2 separate regions of the Homo sapiens genome follow, and region 2 is linked to region 1. The links are contacts of gene promoters, found by promoter capture Hi-C in blood cells and fetal thymus (Javierre and others, 2016). All regions are on one chromosome and are shown on one strand. The core of a region is centred on a gene start or on the middle of the fragment in contact, and the rest is flanking DNA. Distances in the headings are between cores, read along the strand shown. Region 1 holds the start of SNX12 (sorting nexin 12). Region 2 overlaps ZMYM3 (zinc finger MYM-type containing 3).

The links. Contacts are between HindIII fragments. The CHiCAGO score rates a contact against its expected background, and 5 or more counts as called.
Region 2: a fragment that was not itself captured here is called in contact with the fragment with the promoter of SNX12 in region 1 in 1 of 17 cell types (total CD8 T cells); the score reaches 5.4 in total CD8 T cells.

What each region holds. Positions count from the first base shown.
Region 1 is chrX:71,064,591-71,071,031 of GRCh38, forward strand. SNX12 (sorting nexin 12) reads right to left here and starts at 3,744. Exons shown (of 4, transcript NM_013346.4): 1 at 3,552-3,744. The coding sequence starts at 3,716. RefSeq lists silencers at 3,707-3,900, 3,740-3,959. The HindIII fragment of the contact is 9,631 bases long and covers 1-5,582 here.
Region 2 is chrX:71,246,949-71,253,389 of GRCh38, forward strand. ZMYM3 (zinc finger MYM-type containing 3) reads right to left here. Exons shown (of 25, transcript NM_201599.3): 2 at 5,641-6,326; 3 at 4,610-4,653; 4 at 4,230-4,296; 5 at 3,484-3,778; 6 at 3,078-3,255; 7 at 2,513-2,731; 8 at 2,071-2,221; 9 at 1,738-1,853; 10 at 1,490-1,576; 11 at 1,214-1,364; 12 at 786-958; 13 at 397-562. The coding sequence starts at 6,307. Among named protein-coding and RNA genes, the nearest start is that of ZMYM3, 4.0 kb to the right of the region's middle. The HindIII fragment of the contact is 6,691 bases long and covers 1,226-6,441 here.

The DNA.
Region 1 (6,441 bases), core at 2,494-4,993:
TTGCTCCCTGATATAAATCAGCTCATTCCCACATTTTAAACACTGAGAAGATTCCCAAGGCTCTAGTGGCAACACGAATCCCCTGACAGAAAACCCTGATCTTCACTCCTGTCTACAAGTTCTAAATAGAAATGGCCAACCACATGTATTAATACTGACCATATTTACTGCCAGTCAATTCAGGTGAGAGGATGAATAAAATAAACTAGTTATCTCCTTTCTCCACAACTGCCTCTTGGCAGGAAAAGAGCAACTCGAAACTCCATTAGAGCTTCACACAGAACCCACTACATCATGCTTTGTACTCCTTGACACTGGAAATTGTCTTTTCAGGATCCAGTTCTCAAATAGGCCATCAAAAGCCAAATAACTGGCCAATTGTACATTAAACTCCATCCAGGATCGTCAAGGTCCAAGGAATGTCAATAGGTTGAAATGGAGTGAGATTCATATAAAGTAAGATTACTAAACCATTATTTATTTAAAAGAATAAATAAGGGCTGGATGCGGTGGCTCACGCCTGTAATCCCAGCACTTTGGGAGGCGAGGCAGGCAGATCACTTGAGGTCAGGAGTTCGAGACCAGCCTGGCCAACATGGTGAAACCCTGTCTCTACTAAAAACACAAAAATTAGCCAGGTGCTTGTAATCCCAACTACTCAGGAAGGTGAGGCAGGAGAATCGCTTGAACCCAGGAGGCGGAGGCTGCAGTGAGCCGAGATCATGCCACTGCCCTCCAGCCTGGGTGACAGAGCAAGACTTTGTCTCAAAAAAAAAAAAAAAAAAAGAATAAACAAGGCCAGGCGTGGTGGCTCACACCTGTAATCCCAGCACTTTGGGAGACTGAGGTGGATGGATCACTTGAGGTCAGGAGTTCGAGACCAGCCTGGCCAACATGGCGAAACCCCATCTCTACTAAAAATACAAAAATTAGGCCGGGCATGGTGGCTAACACCTATAATCCCAGCACTTTGGGAGGCCGAGGCAAGCGGATCACTTGAGGTCAGGAGTTCGAGACCAGCCTGGCCAACATGGCGAAACCTGTCTCTACTAAAAATACAAAAATTAGCCAGGCGTGGTGGTACATGCCTGTAATCCCAGCTACTTGGGAGGCTGAGGCAGAAGAATCACTTGAACCCGGGAGGCAGAGGTTGCAGTGAGCCGAGATCATGCCACTGCACTCCAGCCTGGGCTACAAGAGCAAAACTCTATCTCAAAAAAAAAAAAAAAAATTAGCCAGGTGTGGTGGCACCATGCCTTATGCCTGTAGTCCCAGCTACTCCAGAGGCTGAGGCAGGAGAATCGCCTGAACCTGGGAGGCATAGGTTGCAGTGAGCTGAGATCATGCCACTGCACTCCAGCCTGGGTGACAGAGCGAGACTCTGTCTCGAAAAAAAAAAAAATTGTGGAAGGGACCGATTAAAAGTTTAGTGAGTAGAAAAATTTTGCATGCTAAAGTTTTGCTACTAAGTGTTGTCAAGGAGACAGAAGTGTAGCAGAAAGAATATGGAGTCAGACATATTTGTGTTCAAATTCCAGCCCTGTCAGTTATAGTTACGTGTACTTGGGCAAGTTACTTAAACTGCATTCCTCCTCAGTTTCCCATGTGTAAAACGAAGTTCTGTAAGGATTAACACAAATTAAAACCTAGTTCAGTGCCTGGTACACAGTAGGCACTAGATGAACAGTCCCTGTTGCTATTAGAATACCTGGAGTAGGGCCAGGCGTGGTGGCTCACGCCTCTAATCCCAGCCCTTTGGGAGGCCGAGGCAGGAGGATCACTTGCGGTCAGCAGTTCAAGACCAGCCTGGCCAACATGGCGAAACCCCGTCTCTATTAAAAATACAAAAATTAGCCAGGCATGGTGGCATGTGCCTGTAATCCCAGCTACTCGGGAGGATGAGGCAGGAGAATTGCTTGAACCCAGGAGGCGGAGGTTGCAGCGAGCCGAGATTGCACCATTGCACGGCAGCCTGGGCAATAGAACGAGACTCCATCTCTTAAAAAAAAAAAAAAAAAAAAAAGAATACCCTGAGTAAAGAGCGATTTCATTCAGAATCCCTAAGACTCTTGGGTAATGCATTGAATGTCTCCAAAACCCCACAGCAGACAGCCCTTATGCTGTACTAGTCATGCCCAAGCTCCCTCAGGTAACTAAGTTCTCCAGCACTGACAATTTCCTGCTTTTATCATATTCTGAAGGACCTAAATTCCATTCTCCCCCAAAGACATGATTTCACATAGTTCTTATATAGACAAGTGTTTCTCATGTTTTGCTATTCACTTTTCTTTCTTCAGTTTGGACTTTGCCAAACTTGGAATCTGGAAATCATAATTTCTCAATAAGATTTCAAAGCCCAAGTAGGAGACCACAATTTCTCATTCAATTCACTCCTTCAACAATGAAAGCACATACACTCTTTTAGTTCTTCAATGCTGTTTGAGCAGGATGCTGTCCACAGAGAATATTCTGGCCTTTTAGTCTGAGAAGAAAACATAAGGAAAACTAGAAAATGATTCTCAAACTGTTTTGCCTATAACCACTTCAAGTGGGCAAAAGATCCTGCAAACCAAGTACTCTATCTGCACATTCCATCCTTGCATTATGGGCTAAGCACTAGAGAGTAAAGTCCTCTATCATGCATGCTGGAAGAAGCCACTCCTGGGCAATTCTGAAATGTCATGTATTAAAGTAACTACAGACCAGGGTCAGAATCCAAAAGGGTAATCTAGGACAGAAAGGGCAAAAAGCCATTCATATACAAAGTACCTAAACGAGAGTCAATAAATACTGAAATAAACATTCTGGATACTTCAAATCTAAAGGATCCACATAGAATGAAAGCAGTGACTGACAAGGCACCAATCCCAGGGCCAGGCCAGGTTTCAAGGCGAGACAGCACGTAGTATCTGCGAAAACTTAAGCATAAAACATTTCTCTCCTTCAGATGCTGATCCGACACAAGTTAGGAAAGCGCTCGGTCTCAAGGAGACTCCCTTTCTTATTTCTGCTCCCACAAGCCTACTGTCTGCCTTTTCTGGAATCTACCTTCCCTTTAATTCAAGGCTTTGCTTTACTCCATTATCCCAGGGAGACCTCATTAGAAAGCAGCCGGCCTTCCTGCCCTCCCTCTTCAGACTTCTCACAACCTAGTTTAGTTATGGAGCTCAGCGATATATCGCCTTGGCTTTCCATCCCCCAGCCCTCTTCCATCCTCCCTCCCTTCCTTCAGTCGCTACAGCCGTGATTCCTATCTCCTTGAATTCCTCACTCTAATCTTTTTCCATCCACCCCACCCTATCCAGCCATGCTTCACTTCCTCATGGGTAGCTTTCCTGCATCCCCGTCCGATGTCTCCCTCAGGAGTTTTCTGCATCCTCCGGCCACAACTGAATCGGCAGACCTCGTTCCAAGCCTATTATACCCCTAACCCCCAAATGACCCCTAAGGCGTCTTCCCCGCCGTTAGTTGCCCCCGCGGTAGCCTCCCTCCCCCCTCCCGCTCGCGCCGCCCGGTCCTCCCTCAGCTGTCTCCCTCACCCCGTGACTCACCCGCATGCGAACCTCATAGGTGGTGAAGCGCGCGCGTCCCACGCCCACCGTCTGAGGATTAAAGATGTCGATCTCCAGGAAGTTACTTGGCGGCCCGTAAGCGTCGGTCAGGTCCTGCGGCTTCGAGTTAAGGCGCCGGGTATCAGCTACTGCCGTGTCCGACATCTTTCCGAAGGAGAGCCTGGGACCGGGGAAAGGGGGTGGGGGACAGAGGCCTGAGGCAGGAGCGCGCACGGCCCCTCCCGCTTGCAAAATAACTAGCCAACCCACAGGCGGCGGCGGCGCGCACGCGCGCCCACGCACGCACGCGCACGCCGCACGGGCCTGGGCCCCGGGCTCTGAATAGCGGCCGTGCTGACTGCTGCGCGCCCTGTAGAGTGGAGGCCATATTCAGGCTTCCGGGTGATGTTTGTGGCCACCCGGGAACCTGCATCCCCAATACGCAGTACCCAATACCCTGCCTAGCAGCACAGGCTGGCTCCGCCAATCGCGGCTCCTCAACCCAAGAAATTGTCTCGTACCGTGTATCAATCAACAGTGGGCACTGCCCCGTGAGCCAGGCTCCTACAGTGATAGGCCGAAGCCCAGTGACCTGAATAAGTCCTGGTTTTCCGCGAAAATAGAAGGGTGGTCTATGGAGGGTGGGGTTCCAACAATAGTACTGAGAACCTATAACGTAGCCGTCCCACCTGTGCCACTGATGGTTTCAGTTCACGCCACACACAATGGCGCACTCAGCACTACGTATGGCGCCAGGAAAGCAGCAAGCAACTAGGATGGGGTAAAGAAAGACATTTCTCTCTTACTTTTCAGGAAAATTGGGCATATCTTACTCCTTGTTGCCACACTCCAGGTGTACTCAATCTTACATTTATCAGCAAATTGAGGGTACTTATTTCATACCTTCTATTTCTACTCCGCAGAACTCCATACTTGGCACTGCTCTGAGGTTGCTTGCAACCCATAATGGAGATAGAATAAATGTTTACATGAGAATATCTATAGAAATATTAATATTTATATGACTAATTTACATATGCTCCACATTAAAGGGTAGACTGGGTGATGATTTCAGGTCATCCTTTCTCCACCTTTCCCCTGCCCTCCTCTACTCAAAAAATATTTCCCATATCACTGATGCCTGAAATTCTTTCAACAGAGTATGAGGCCCTACAATTTCACAATTGCTGTTTAATTCAATTTAACCAATATCCACTAAGCAAATACGTGCCAAGCACCATGCTAAACACTAAAATCCTGGAGTTAAATAAGAGTCCCTGCCCTCAAGGAGTTAACATTCTAGCAAGGGAGACAAGTAAACAAAACTAATATAATGCGACAAATACAAAATAAGTAAATGTTCAAAGCAGCACATAGGAAATGTATAACTGGAAAAATTAGGGGAGGTTCCCCTGGAGGAGGAAACATCTGAGTTTAACAGACATGAAAAGACATAAAGGACAAATAGGAGTGGAAATAGGGAAAGGTAATTTCTGGAATAAGAAACAGCATATGCAGGCCGGGCGCGGTGGCTCACACCTGTAATCCCAGCACTTTGGGAGGCCGAGGCAGGCAGATCACTTGAGGTCAAGAGTTCGAGATCAGCCTGGCCAACATGGTGAAACCCTGTCTCTATTAAAAATACAAAAATTAGCTGGGCATGGTGGCACACGCCTGTAATCCCAGCTACTCAGGAGGCTGAGGCAGGAGAATCGCTTGAACCCGGGAGGCAGAGGTTGCAGTGAGCTGAGATCATGCCACTGCACTCCATCCTGGGCAACAGAGCAAGACTCCATCAAAAAAAGAAAGAAAGAAAAGGAAAAGAAAAGAGAGAGAGAGAGAGAGCGAAAGAAAGAAAGAATACACAAAGTCCTTGCGATAAGAAACAGTGGAGCATTTTTAGGCATTTATCGCCAATTCAGACTGTGTGATGGAAGTGTTTAGAAAGGTAGACTGGCTAGGGATGGGCAGACAAAGGATGATCCGCTTATATTAAGTAAAGGATCTCTGACTTCATGATAGGTGATACAAAGCTTTCTGGTAGGTGATAGGGAGTCCCTGAAGGATCCTAAGCAGGAAAAATACATGATCAGATTTATGTTTTAGAAGAATTGTTTTGTAGACAACATGGAAGGTATATTTAAGTTGAATTATGAAGGTATTGACAATAAGACTCCGAATCAAGTGGTGATGGTGACAATGGAGAGGAGGGAAGAGATAGGAAAGAGATTGAAGAAATAAAATAGATACGACTTGTACGTGATTAGATATGGTGGTAGTATAGTGTAGGGCTTAAATGTGTGACCCATGAACTTAGGCTGCCTGGGTTTAAATCCTTGCTTTCTAGCTGTATAACCATGAGCAAATTATACAAACAGTTTTCCTCATCTGTAAAAAATGAGTTCAGTTTAGATAAATATGGGGTGTCTGTAGAACATCCAGGTGGAGATGTCCAGCGAGTAGCTGGAAATACTGGCCTGGAGCTCGAGGGCGAGGTCAGGGTTAGAGAGATAGAGATATGAGAGTCATCAGCATACCATGTAGAAAGAAAAACATGAAGAGGCAAGGACAGAAGATTTGAAAGTTGGTGAGGGCATGCAGTTTTGGTAGGAATGTGAATCGGTACAATCTTTCTGGGAAATAGATTGGCAGTATGTATTTTTTTTTTAAACTTTGACTTGAAGAAACTTGTAATACTGGTTGTCTCTGGAGAGCAGAACTGGAGAAAAGAAGTCACAGACGGCAGGGAGGGTTGTTTTTCATTAACTGTGTTTAAGTATAATGCCTTTGTATTTTTTATTTTTAATGTTATTTACCAAAATCTTTAACTCAAAAGTTTTACTTCCAATAATTTATCCTCAGAAAATAATCAGATAATCACATAAAGATA
Region 2 (6,441 bases), core at 3,321-5,820, 180 kb after region 1:
GAAGAGTCTGTTATCCCTGGAGTTGTGGAGGGGCAGGGGTAACATTCTAGAAATAGCAGTCTTCAGTCTCACTAAATGTAGAGTTTATGCTGAGATTTCCTTATCTCAGAAACGTAACCATAACCCCTATATGCTCCATCCTACCAGGAAAGGCACCCACTCCCTAACAATATATATTTCATAGACAATCAGTAGATGCTAACTCCAAGAAGCTTTAAATAAGACTCCCCCGGTACCTGCAGGGTTCGGAAGCTAAAAGAGAATACAGTTCACAGTACTAGCACCCTATCTGGCCAGGGGTGAGCTGAACGCAAGAGGAAGGAGAAAGGGGCTAGGCTTAGGATTAGGAGAGTCCAGGCTCCCTCTAACAGAGTGTACCCCCTGCCTGGGACTCACTGTTCAGGAGGCTCTCGGGCCCACTCTGGGTATCCAGGTTGGGTTGGTTCTGCTGGCTATAGAAACGCAGAAGACACTGCTGGTTGCAGAAATGACGGATCTGCCCACGCCAGTGGATGGTCTCCAGCAGCTTCCCCTGGCGCTTACACGCATGGCACCGGGCAGCCTGAGGATGTCAAAAGGATGGTCAGACCTGCCTCCCTAAAATGCGTTGGGCCCTTTCTTTCCCCCGGGATAAGCCATGCTCCTCCCCTTGGAGATCGGGCCAGCTTAGAGATGGAAGGCTGGCTGCCCTCCCTGGAGATCTGTCCACACCCCGAGCTCAGTACCACAGCCCGTGCTCCCCACTGCCCTCTTTCCCGCCTCGCTCGCATGCTGACCCTCCTTACCTTGCAGTACCACAGCAGGTACTTGCTCTTACAGTCCTCACTGCAGAAGTCCCAGGTGCTGCCATCCAGTTGCTCGGTGACTCCGCGCTGGCAGGTCTGGGAGCAGTAAGTACAAGTGATACAGCACAAGCCCAGCTTCTTAGTGAAGTCCTGTTTGTACAGCAGCACACAGCCTGGAAAGAGGAGAAGAGGAAAGAGAGTCCAGAGACACAGATACCCAAGGGCAAGAGACCCAACCTTTTCAAGGTGCTATACCTGAAACCTCTCTCTAAGCAGCCCCTTGTGCCCAAAACTTTAGGGGAGATGGGGGTAGAACATCCCGGGCAGAAGGCCCTGCCTCATGGACCACTTTCCCGGCCTCCCTCCCTTCTCCTCCATTCTCCCTGGCTGGGAGTTATAGTGTCTTCTGCCCTTCCCCATCTCCTTACCTTCGCTGCAGAAGCTTTTCTCCACTCCGCTGAATCGGAGTTTCTCATGCAAGAGTTTCTCCTGCCGACAGTGCTCACACTGGGACACCACACCCCGAAGCCGCTTGAAGTCCTCACAGCAATCACGGCAGCAGAACTGGAACACTTGGTCCTGAGGTGGGGGCACAGGGCAGGGAGGACAAGCTGTAACATCTGGCCCCAGCAGGGGCCAAGTGGAAGGACCCCTTCAGACAGTCTGGTCGTGTGGCAAGACGTGGGTGGGGGTGGGGCTCTTACCTGCCAGTCCAAGACCTCAGGCTTGCCACTGAAGAGGCTGTGACAGTAGTGACAGCTCAGGTGAATGCCCCCCTCAGGGCTTGTGCGCTGGAGGGAAGGAAGACAAGTAAGGGAGGGGCAAGATGTGTGCAGCGGTGGGGAAGGGGAGTCAGGCTTGTTCTTTGCTCTGCCCAGGCCTGCCTACCCCAATTCTCCAACCCTCTTTATGTTGCCAAACCCTTCTATCCCTGGTCCAGGGTCTGGAGTACCTGGAACTTGGTCCAGCAGCTGGGGCTGCAGAACTGGTAGACTGTGCGGTCAACCTTGTTGTAGTAACAGGGGTCAGAGAGGCTGCGGCGGCAGAAGCTGCAGGGTCGGGGAGGGCCTGGGGCATAGAGAGAAAGAGAGAGAGGAAAAGAGAAAGAGAGAGGGAGAGAGAGAGCACACAGAAGGTGTAAGGCAGTGTAAGAGACGAACAGAAAATCCATGGGGAGATGTGGTTGGGACTGAGGTCGGGCAGCAAGGATTACTCTGGAAGAGGGGAGTATGGGAGGTAGAGAGAAGGCCAGCAGGGGACTCAGAGAAGAGGGCTTTGCACCTACCAGTGAGCCCTGCCTGCTTCACTTTGTAAGAAGTGGTACAGCACAGGGAACAGAACAAGCTGGTCTTGCCATTACGATCCACATGTGATAGCATCTCAAAGTTCTTACACAGGGTCTTGCACCAGACACATGGGTACACACGTGTGTTTTTCTGTGAGGATGGGGAAGGAGAGGCTGAGGCTGGATTTGTCCCTTCACTTTTATTTTTTAAATGTTTTAAACATGAAATATTTCAGGCATACAAAAAAAGTATAGATGATGATGTAACAAAGACCTGTGTATCCACCAGCCAGCTTCAAAAATAAAACATAACGGATACAATTGAAACCCCCTTTATTTGTTTTATTTCTCCCAGCCCTTGACCCATCAGCCACCTTTATTTATAACCCAAGAACCACACCCCCTTCCACAGCCCTCTAATGCACTACTCCCTCGGCCCCACCTTCTTGTACGCCCCCAAGCAGGTTGTGTTGCAGAACCGCTTTTGTTGGCCCTCGTGGAAGAGGAGCTCAGGGCCAGGACTCCCGGTCTTGGTGTAGATGTAAGCCCCACACTGGTCACAACAGTTGGTTTTCAGTCCCTTGTTGGCCCGGAATTTGGAGAAGCAAGAATCGCTGCAGAGCCGGTGTACCACGCTGCCATTGCTGACCTCGTGCAGGACCTGCCACACACATACACGCACCCTGAGCTAGGGCCTGGCCACCACCGCCCACCCCAATGCAAGGTCAGCCCCCCACCTCACCCTAGACCTTCACAGCAGACAGTGGGCCCAGGGACCCCCCAACCTGCGCCGCAGGCTGCCGACTTGATGGTGAGGTCCTGGGAGGTAAGGAAGGCCAGCTGTGCACATCCTGGAGAAGCTCTGTCCTTGAATACGCTCCCTCATGATGGCCGCCTTTCCTCCCCACTCCCCTTTCCACAGGGCCTGGACCCTGCAGCCCCAGGATGGGAGGGGCAGGTCAGGGCTGGCCAGGCTCTGTAAATCAGCCCCCACTGAGTGTCCTCACCTCTCCAGTCTTCTGGCATATGCTGCAGCGAGTAGCGTCGGCGGGATCCCCAGACTGGGGGATCGGGCGCTGCTGCTGGGCCTCATACAGGGAGAGACAGACGGATGTGCAGAACTCATGGAAGGAGCCTCCAGAACCAGTCTGCGCCACAACCGAGTCCTTGGTGTTCCAGATCTCCCTAGAGGTGGGAACAGGTTTGAATATTCACTCAAGACCACCCTCTCATTTCCTCAGCTTCCGCCCCTCCTCCAGGATCAATGACCACAGAGCCAAATACTCTGACTCTCTCCCTACATCACTCTCTCGCCCAGCTCCATCCTGCTAGGTTCTTACCAACAGTCTCTGTCTTACTCATACTCCTGCCCAGATCCCTGCCCTCTGCATAGCCCCCAAGACCCTCACGCACTTCTTGCAGAAGGTACAGGTCTTTTTGCCCGAGGGCTTCTTGGAGAAAGTGGTGAGGCAGGATGACGAGCAGAAGAGCTGAGGCAGCCCCTTGCGCTGATAGGCAGTCTGCCCCTTCTGCAGTGGTGTCCGGCAATGTGCACAAGTCATCTTGGTGCCCACTGCAGAGCGCCCGGCCCTTTGTGACACACTTGAGCGTAGGGACATGCGAGGAGAGCGCCGGGGCCGGAATGGCACAAAGTCCTCATCATTGGGGTCATCTACCATGGCATCAGAATCCTCATCTGACACTGGAACTGAGAAAGTGGGGGGATGGACATGAGAAAGGCCACCAAACCAGGTCTCCAACCATCCCCTGACCAACAGTTCAGTCCCTCTCCTGGGATCCCTGTTGTTCCGGCCTTTACACCCTGGCCCTTGTTACATCAGTATCTTAAGACCTTGGTGTCTCTCTCCCTTGGTTACTCTGTAACCTCCCAGGGAGGGAAAGGGAGAGGCTCTAAATGAGAAGATTCGGAGACAGAGATGGCATAGCTGAAACAGGAAACTCGCCATTCTCACTGCTCTTGTTTTCAATTTCCCCCACTGCCCCTGGTTCCCATGCCAACCCATAGCAGAGACAGGCACTTCATGCGCTTCATGGAGCAGGACGGCAGGAGCTAGAAGATCCATGCCCTGCCGCATGCCACTTTCGGACCTTTTCCACACCCAGAACTCCCAGGTCACACTTCCTCAAATCCTACTTACTGCTCTCAGTGGAATCTACAACCTCAGGTTTTGGAGGTTCTGCTCTCCTAACGCGCTCGCTTCTCTTCTGTACCTCGGAAAGATGGGAGGGGAGGAAAACTGACACCCTGGCCAGGCTAACACTAGTACAGGGTTTGGGGGGGGATAGAAGATGGGAGGGGGAAGGGAGAGTGGGGACCCTTGGCCCAGCCCTTAGGAGGAGGGAAGAAAAGGAGGTTGGACTTTCTCCCCAACAAGCAGTAGACACTAGTGCTCCCTCCCTCCTCCTAACTCTCCTTACACACACTCTCTACAGAACAACATCTGGGAGGGAAAATGAAGGGTCTGTCCTTCCCAGAGCTAAGGGGGAACCAGACTCCTTCCAATCCCCTCCCCCTCACCCGTTCAGGCGGCTTCTCACTCGCCTTCGCAGTCAGGCCATCTCCTGCAAAGGAAGCAGAAGGCAGCCTAAATGTTGAGCCTGCCCTCACCACCCTCTCCCCGGCCCAACCCCCGCCTCCATTCCTGGGGAAGAACTTACTCAAAACTGAAAGGGAAAACTCGAGTGCCTGTGGCTTCTTGGGGCCCCTCTCAGGGTTACCTCAGGCTCTGTACTAAGGGTGGGGGGGTGCACGTGCAGCTATTCCATGAAAAAAAAAAAATCTATCCTTCCCACCAGCTTTCTGTCCCAATCCTTGGGGGTTAAGGAAACACAGGTAATATACCTTTCATTAAGAATTTATATTTTACCAATGAAAAACACACACAACCACCCAAAGGTAGCAAAAGGAAAAGGAAGCATCAGTGTATGGGTAGCTTCCCCTGGATTCAGGTGGTTATATAAGCCCTAAGACCCTCGTCACAGCCTGATAGAGGCACACCACTAGGCAGAAGAGGGGAGACACTAGAGCCTCTCAAGTCAAGGTTGTCCCTCCCCTATCAGAGACGCAATCCTAGACCCTGCATTTCTATCGCTCTGCTGAAATCCTTATGCTGTTAGGGGCTCCAGAACCTAGTTACCATTCATCAAACCCAGAAATCCCACTCCCATCTAGAACCAAAAAGCTGTAAAGGTCTTAGAACCAAGAAGCCTGGTGTACTCCCCCAAATCCTGAAGGAAGGACTCTGGCACCAAAAGCCCACTGGGGTAGGAAAAAGGGAACCCTTCCCACCAAATTCACTCCTCCCAACCTACGCTCCCTGAAACCTTACCCCATTCCTCCCCCACAGCCTGTGCCCACCCCTACTTTCCTTAATCTTCCTCTACACACCACCCCACTCCTCCCTCGTAAACCCCAAGTCCTTCCCCACACACATCCCTACACTTATCTCTCCACCCTCCTCCTCCCCACTACTTCCCAAAGCACATAGCCACCCCTCCTTACCACCACCCTCTCCCAGCCCTGATTCTCCAGATAATTAGGCAACCTACCTGGCAAGGAAGGATGTGCAGGGGGGCTAGAGCCCCCAGGTTTGGTCTGAGAACTGTTGATTCCATCCCCCAGAGTCTCTCCCACTGAAGGGCTAGGCGGGGCATTTGGGCTCTGTGGCTGCCCTTGGGGAAGCTCCTCCTCCTGCCCAGGGGAGCCCCTTCTTGCAGTAGCTATGGAGGTGGTCTCCTCCTCTTCAATATGTGGGGACTGCAGTGTTATTGGAGAATCTGGAGCCAAAGGCTCTAGTAGCCCCTCAGGTGAACAGGAATTTGCCCCAGCCCCTGGATCAGGTGGTACCACCTCAGGGGTCTGGCCCCCTGGTCCAGGCTCTAGGGTCTGATCTCCTGCATCCCATGCCAGGGTTCCCTCAGGACCGTGGTCCACCTCCGGGGGAGAGGGGGCTTTATAGAGCAGCCCCCCCAGCCCCAGCAACTCAGTGGCTCCATCCAGGACTCCAGGGTCTTTTTCCAGGCCAGCAGGGGTATCAAGCAGGTCCAGGGCTCCCGAGGATGGAGAAGGGCCAGGGGGGGCCCATCCTCGAGTTGGGGCAGTCTGGGATTCCAGTAGATCCTCTCCAAATTCCATGTCTACTGGTAGGTCTCCAGCCAGGGGCTTCTCTGGCAGGGTCAATGGGTCAAATGGACTGGGGAAATCACTGGGGTCCATGAGTATGGCTGGATATGTACTGCAGATTAGGAGTAGAAGAGGGGGCAGTAGAGGTGGTCTTAGCCTGAATTCCTTCTTATATAGGCTCTGAGACACACCCCATCATCCACTTGGATTTCTCATGAGCAGCCCCC